Regions from separate parts of the Homo sapiens genome. Here region 2 is linked to region 1. The links are contacts of gene promoters, found by promoter capture Hi-C in human tissues and cell types (Jung and others, 2019). All regions are on one chromosome and are shown on one strand. Each heading gives the region's core, a stretch centred on a gene start or on the middle of the fragment in contact. The rest is flanking DNA. Distances are from core to core; before and after follow the strand shown. Region 1 holds the start of AMIGO3 (adhesion molecule with Ig like domain 3). Region 2 overlaps USP19 (ubiquitin specific peptidase 19).

What was found. The method cuts DNA at HindIII sites, captures the fragments that hold promoters and counts their contacts. A contact is called where the count stands out against the background at its distance.
Region 2: a contact is called between a fragment that was not itself captured here and the fragment with the promoter of AMIGO3 in region 1, in 1 of the 25 tissues and cell types used here (dorsolateral prefrontal cortex).

Annotation. Positions count from the first base shown.
Region 1 is chr3:49,717,801-49,721,599 of GRCh38, reverse strand. It overlaps AMIGO3 (adhesion molecule with Ig like domain 3), which reads left to right and starts at 1,916. Exons shown (of 1, transcript NM_198722.3): 1 at 1,916-3,799. The coding sequence starts at 2,135. The coding sequence ends at 3,649. It overlaps RNF123 (ring finger protein 123), which reads right to left. Exons shown (of 39, transcript NM_022064.5): 36 at 947-1,089; 37 at 706-800; 38 at 495-580; 39 at 71-415. The coding sequence ends at 295. It overlaps GMPPB (GDP-mannose pyrophosphorylase B), which reads left to right. Exons shown (of 9, transcript NM_021971.4): 9 at 1-1,684. RefSeq lists a silencer at 380-557 and enhancers at 1,552-1,781, 2,552-2,661, 2,143-2,950. The HindIII fragment of the contact is 19,440 bases long and covers 1-3,799 here.
Region 2 is chr3:49,111,035-49,114,517 of GRCh38, reverse strand. USP19 (ubiquitin specific peptidase 19) reads left to right here. Exons shown (of 27, transcript NM_001199161.2): 16 at 234-344; 17 at 425-526; 18 at 1,889-2,029; 19 at 2,116-2,234; 20 at 2,470-2,607; 21 at 2,705-3,018; 22 at 3,153-3,263; 23 at 3,352-3,483. Among named protein-coding and RNA genes, the nearest start is that of QARS1, 8.0 kb to the right of the region's middle. The HindIII fragment of the contact is 5,151 bases long and covers 1-3,483 here.

The DNA of each region.
Region 1 (3,799 bases), core at 667-3,166:
TCATCTGGCAGGATCCCTGCTGGGCACACCCCACAAACCCCACTCCCTCAAGAAGGGCCAGGGCCAGGGCTGTATGGAATAATAATTTAATGCTCACTGTGGCCCTGACTGAAAGTCAAGCTCAGGCACAATTAGGGCCATGGCTGGGCTCCCACCAATGAGGATACAGGCAGGCAAGGAGGTTGGATGTGGTGGTGTGGGATACAGGAGAAGGGCAAAGGGAGCTCATAAATAGGGCCCAGCCTGGCTCTGGGTTCAAAGGTGGAGGTTCCAGGATGGCACAGGCTGTGAGGGCTAGGCAGCTGAGGAGGTAGTACTCGTATTGGCTCCCTTCTCCCAGTCCTCTACAGACACGATGGTGGTTTTGCAGAAGAAGCAGTCCTTGTTGTTCATCAGGTGCTGGTTGATACAGGCTCTACAACAGGGGAGGGGATGAGGACTGCCCTGCATGTACCTACTGCTCTCCCCACCACCAAGCTGTGGGGCCCACTTACTTGCAGGACTTGTGGCCACAGGGCTGGAACACAGCAGAGATGGGGTGGGCATAGCAGATGGGGCAGAGGTCCTCCTCACTGGTGGGCTGCAGGGAGGAGAGTGAAGGGTGGGCTGGAGTTGGATGCCTGGCTATGTGGATGTCCGTTGTGCCTGTGTAGGAGTGCACACATATTCAAGTGGCATGGACCTGTGCACCGTGTTCCCACTCACCAGGGAGGCAGCTGCTGCCTGGGCAGATGCAGAGGTCAGGTGCGCCAGCATCTGTTCCACTTGGGCCAGCTCATCGGCACTGATATAATCCGCATCTGGGGAGTGGTAGGTAGTGTCAAGTCAGAGGTAGCTGAGGATGTGATGCCTCTTGAATATTCCCAGCCTAGGACTTTGCTGTTCTTAAGGCTCCTGACCCGACCCAGCCCCAGATTTCCCTGACCTGCCCCACCAGCCCACTCACAGCTCTGCAGGGAGAAGCGCTTCCGGTCAGGGGCTGGCAGAGCAGTGCCAGGTGCTGGGGGCTCTGGCTGTCCCAGGAGATAGCATATTGAGCGTAGCTGGAAGCAGGGATCTGCCAGGAGCACTGATGTGGCTTGCTCTCTCCTAGGTAGGGGAGGGTGCAAGGGCAGTCAGAAGGCTTGGGGCCTGGCTAAAAGTCTCTCTTGGGATTGCCAATGAGGAGTGCCATGGCTCGTACATGATCACCCCCCCTGCATCCTTTCCGTCTCCCTGCTTCCCAAACCCCAAGTCCTGTATTCTAGTAAGGTGCCACACAGCCTGTTTTTTTTTTTTTTTTCTTGAGACGAGTCTCGCTCTGTTGCCCAGGCTGGAGTGCGATGGCACGATCTCGGCTCACTGCAACCTCCACCTCCCGGGTTCAAGTGATTCTCCTGCTTTAGCCTCCCGAGTAGCTGGAATTGCAGACGCCCACCACCACGCCCGGCTAATTGTTGTATTTTTAGTAGAGACAGGGTTTCACCAGGTTGGCCAGGCTGGTCTCGAATTCCTGACCTCAGGTGATCCACCTGCCTTGGCTTCCCAAAGTGCTGGGATTACAGGCGTGAGCCACCGCGCCCGGCCTGGGGTACCACTTTAAGAAGGCTCAGGCGAACCACCTTAAGATAGTGAGAGTCTGCCTGCCCCATAATATTATCAGTCCTTCAAAGTCACTTCAAATAAACACTAACAGCAGCTTGGAGACATTCTTCCAGACTCCCCCTTTTACTCCCCGAGGAAAAACGAGCGGCGGAGAGCTGCCAGCCAAAGGCTGACGGGGACTTTGGGGTTGGCCTTGCTCCCCATCTGGCGGTCATGCGGGGCCATTGGGCACAAAGGGATGTAGCCGCCCCGCCTCCTCAAACGGGAACCAATAGGAGCCCGGGCCCCGCCCCTGGGGGGAGTATTTAGGAGCCGATCAGGAACTCGCTTGGAGAGGGCTAGCGAAGCCGAAGGGAGCGCGGCTAAGAGTGCCGCACCGCCTCACAACCTGGGAACCGGAGAGTAGGGGCCGTCGGCTGGCAAGAACCCGCCGTGCCTCCTCGGCAAGGGCCATCCGGTGCCACCCATGTCGCACTAGAGCAGAAGAGGGTGAGTCCTGGAACTGCAACCTGCACAGAGCTGCTCTGTACTGTCCCTGGTGGTCGCCGCCATGACCTGGTTGGTGCTGCTGGGGACACTGCTCTGCATGCTGCGCGTTGGGTTAGGCACCCCGGACTCCGAGGGTTTCCCGCCCCGTGCGCTCCACAACTGCCCCTACAAATGTATCTGCGCTGCCGACCTGCTAAGCTGCACTGGCCTAGGGCTGCAGGACGTGCCAGCCGAGTTACCTGCCGCTACTGCGGACCTCGACCTGAGCCACAACGCGCTCCAGCGCCTGCGCCCCGGCTGGTTGGCGCCCCTCTTCCAGCTGCGCGCCCTGCACCTAGACCACAACGAACTAGATGCGCTGGGTCGCGGCGTCTTCGTCAACGCCAGCGGCCTGAGGCTGCTCGATCTATCATCTAACACGTTGCGGGCGCTTGGCCGCCACGACCTCGACGGGCTGGGGGCGCTGGAGAAGCTGCTTCTGTTCAATAACCGCTTGGTGCACTTGGACGAGCATGCCTTCCACGGCCTGCGCGCGCTCAGCCATCTCTACCTGGGCTGCAACGAACTCGCCTCGTTCTCCTTCGACCACCTGCACGGTCTGAGCGCCACCCACCTGCTTACTCTGGACCTCTCCTCCAACCGGCTGGGACACATCTCCGTACCTGAGCTGGCCGCGCTGCCGGCCTTCCTCAAGAACGGCCTCTACTTGCACAACAACCCTTTGCCTTGCGACTGCCGCCTCTACCACCTGCTACAGCGCTGGCACCAGCGGGGCCTGAGCGCCGTGCGCGACTTTGCGCGCGAGTACGTATGCTTGGCCTTCAAGGTACCCGCGTCCCGCGTGCGCTTCTTCCAGCACAGCCGCGTCTTTGAGAACTGCTCGTCGGCCCCAGCTCTTGGCCTAGAGCGGCCGGAAGAGCACCTGTACGCGCTGGTGGGTCGGTCCCTGAGGCTTTACTGCAACACCAGCGTCCCGGCCATGCGCATTGCCTGGGTTTCGCCGCAGCAGGAGCTTCTCAGGGCGCCAGGATCCCGCGATGGCAGCATCGCGGTGCTGGCCGACGGCAGCTTGGCCATAGGCAACGTACAGGAGCAGCATGCGGGACTCTTCGTGTGCCTGGCCACTGGGCCCCGCCTGCACCACAACCAGACGCACGAGTACAACGTGAGCGTGCACTTTCCGCGCCCAGAGCCCGAGGCTTTCAACACAGGCTTCACCACACTGCTGGGCTGTGCCGTGGGCCTTGTGCTCGTGCTGCTCTACCTGTTCGCCCCACCCTGCCGCTGCTGCCGCCGTGCCTGCCGCTGCCGCCGCTGGCCCCAAACACCCAGCCCGCTCCAAGAGCTGAGCGCACAGTCCTCAGTACTCAGCACCACACCGCCAGACGCACCCAGCCGCAAGGCCAGCGTCCACAAGCACGTAGTCTTTCTGGAGCCAGGCCGGAGGGGCCTCAATGGCCGCGTGCAGCTGGCAGTAGCTGAGGAATTCGATCTCTACAACCCTGGAGGCCTGCAGCTGAAGGCTGGCTCTGAGTCCGCCAGCTCCATAGGCTCCGAGGGTCCCATGACAACCTAGACTGCCCAGGGCTCCCCCACCCAGGCCCCCACCCTCTTGCTGCTCGCCCTGCTCCCTGCTTCGGTCCAGAGAACTGGCAGATACTGGTGGGAAGCACTGTGCCTGGCCCCCCAGCTTCCTGTATGGGCCTCGAAACACAATGGGCCTTCT
Region 2 (3,483 bases), core at 880-3,379, 610 kb after region 1:
GTGAGGCCAATTCGTAAAGTGGCTAAGCTGAGTAGGGCTTTGAGTGCCAGAAAGAAGGATTGTTATTTCCTGGTGGTCCTCCTGCCCTGTCTAGTGTCCTGAAGCCTGAGAGTTTGCTGGTTGGCTGTGGGGGCCCTGAGAGCCATCAGAAGCCCCGGAATGGGCTCTCTGAGCATGAGCATCTTATCTCCCACTCTGTGTGCAGCTACCCAGTGCCACCTCTACATCCACAGGTCTCCATCACTTTTGACCCGTTTCTTTATCTGCCGGTGCCCTTGCCACAAAAGCAAAAGGTTCTCCCTGTCTTTTATTTTGCCCGAGAGCCCCACAGCAAGCCCATCAAGGTGAGGAGTAAGCCCCTACCCTCTGGGCTGTTCTAGAGAACGTGGCCCACCTCCCTCACTGACTGCCCTTTTTGCCACAGTTCCTGGTGAGCGTCAGCAAGGAGAACTCCACTGCGAGCGAAGTATTGGACTCCCTCTCTCAGAGTGTTCATGTGAAGCCTGAGAACCTGCGTTTGGCGGAGGTATCTTTGTCCTTCCTTGGGCTATCACATGTGTGGATGTGTGTGTGTACTCACCACAGACGTGTGTACAGTCATTGGCATCTACAGACATACACATGGGCTGGGCACAGTGGCTCATGCCTGTAGTCCCAGCACTTTGTGAGGCCGAGGTGGGCAGATCACTTGAGCCCAGGAGTTTGGGACCAGCCTGGGCAACTTGGTGAAACACTGTCTCTACAAGAAATAAAATTAGCTGGGCATGGTGGTACGTGTTATAGTCCCAGCTACTTGGGAGGCTGAGGCAAGAGGCTCACTTGAGCCCGGGATGTGGAGGTTGCAGTGAGCAGAGATTGCACCACAGCACTCCAGCCTGGGTGACAGAGTGAGACTCTGTCTCAAAAATAAATAAATAAATAGATAAAAAAATAAAAATAGGGCCAGGCGTGGTGGCTCATGCCTGTAATCCCAGCTCTTTGGGAGGCCAAGGCTGATGGATCACAAGGTCAGGAGATCCAGACCACCCTGGCTTACATGGTGAAACCCCACCTCTACTAAAAATACAGGAAAAGTTAGCCGGGCGTGGTGGCACATGTCTGTAGTCCCAGCTGCTCAGGAGGCTGAGGCAGGAGAATCGCTTGAACCTGGGAGGCAGAGGTTGCAGTGAGCCGAGATCGCGCCACTGCACTCCAGCCTGGGTGACAGAGTGAGACTCTGTCTCAAAAATAAAATAAAATAAAATAAAAATAGACATACACATGAGTATGCCTGTGACTGTACAAAAACAGGCGATGTGCTGTTATTTTTTCTGTGCAACAGAAGTGCCCTCAGTTCCTAGCCATTATCAGGGTTTATTCCCCTTTGTGGTGGTGGATCCCAACTGCATTTCCCTTTTTAGACAAGGAGCTTGAGCTGCAGGACTATCCCTATGTTCGCTCTGCCTCTCCCTCTATCCTGCTGCTCTCTCCTTTTATCCCAGTTGTGTGTGCTAGCTCTCCCCAGGGGTTCCTAGCCTTTAGCCTGACAGTGTTGGTTTTCTTAGGGGTAAGAGTGGGGAGGAGGCTCTTTGAATGTGGACCCTCCATGATAATATGTTACAGTCTTATAAGGCTATGCTAGTTATAGCAGGGCAGAGTCCCTCAGTGTGGAGAGCTGGTGTGGTTGATATCTGCCTCACACCTGGTCTTTCAGGCCCTCTGATGCACCAGGCTCCTTATGGCATTGGGCACTGAGACAGGTGCCAGCAGAGGCATAAGCCTATTTGGGCCTACAGACCTCACCACTGCCCACATAGACCCAAGGCAGGGCCAAGCCTTCTTAAACTCTGGGGCAGGGCTAGGGAAAGGGCTTATCCTCACGTGGGATCTGTGTGTTCTCTGTCCCCAGGTAATTAAGAATCGTTTTCATCGTGTGTTCCTACCCTCCCACTCACTGGACACTGTGTCCCCATCTGATACGCTCCTCTGCTTTGAGCTGCTATCCTCAGAGTTGGCTAAGGAGCGGGTAGTGGTGCTAGAGGTGCAACAGGTGAGTGGGGGCCAACCTGATGGCACAGCGCCCTGGTGGGTGGGGCACTTCTTCCTGGTCTTGCTGAGCCAGACGACCCACCCTAGCGCCCCCAGGTGCCCAGCGTCCCCATCTCCAAGTGTGCAGCCTGCCAGCGGAAGCAACAGTCGGAGGATGAAAAGCTGAAGCGCTGTACCCGGTGCTACCGTGTGGGCTACTGCAACCAGTGAGGACCCCCATGGTCTCCCCTACCCTTTCTTTCCACCTTCCATGTGCCACCCTGCTCCTTCCCTTCACACCAAGGCACATATGCTTAAGCTTTCTACTTGCCACCCTACTTTACCAGGCTCTGGGGGAGGCAGGGCTGGCGTACCCAGTTCCCAGGGACTATGACTAGCCCCCAGTATGGAGTCATAGGAGATGGGGCTAAGGGCCTATCCTTGTCTTCCTCTTCCCGTCAGGCTCTGCCAGAAAACCCACTGGCCTGACCACAAGGGCCTCTGCCGACCTGAGAACATTGGCTACCCCTTCCTGGTCAGTGTACCTGCCTCACGCCTCACTTATGCCCGCCTCGCTCAGTTGCTAGAGGGCTATGCCCGGTAAGTGCCCAGTGGTTGGACTAGAGTGGTGTAGGTGGGGGCAGAGGTGCTAGATGGGCTGGTCAGGAGTCTTACTTGCGTTGTTCTCTGTTGCCAGGTACTCTGTGAGTGTATTCCAGCCACCCTTTCAGCCAGGCCGCATGGCCTTGGAGTCTCAGAGCCCTGGCTGCACCACACTGCTCTCCACAGGTTCCCTGGAGGCTGGGGACAGCGAGAGAGACCCCATTCAGCCACCTGAGCTCCAGCTGGTGACCCCTATGGCTGAGGGGGACACAGGGCTTCCCCGGGTGTGGGCAGCCCCTGACCGGGGTCCTGTGCCCAGCACCAGTGGAATTTCTTCTGAGATGCTGGCCAGTGGGCCCATTGAGGTTGGCTCCTTGCCAGCTGGCGAGAGGGTGTCCCGACCCGAAGGTAAGATCCAGTGAAAGGCTCTAGAAGCTGGGGAGGAGGATAAGGGAGGATGGAGGGGGCTGTTGTTTAGGGCCTGGTGGGCCTGGTGAGGCCCTGATGGGCAGGGAAGCTTTGATTATCATGTTCTCACACAGCTGCTGTGCCTGGGTACCAGCATCCAAGTGAAGCTATGAATGCCCACACACCCCAGTTCTTCATCTATAAAATTGATTCATCCAACCGAGAGCAGCGGCTAGAGGACAAAGGTGTCTGAGGCTGTGGGTGGGAGCCATGGGGTGGGTTGAGCTGGCTGTTCTCCACAGCTGCATGACCTCTCTCCCTGCGAATCTCCAGGAGACACCCCACTGGAGCTGGGTGACGACTGTAGCCTGGCTCTCGTCTGGCGGAACAATGAGCGCTTGCAGGAGTTTGTGTTGGTAGCCTCCAAGGAGCTGGAATGTGCTGAGGATCCAGGCTCTGCCGGTG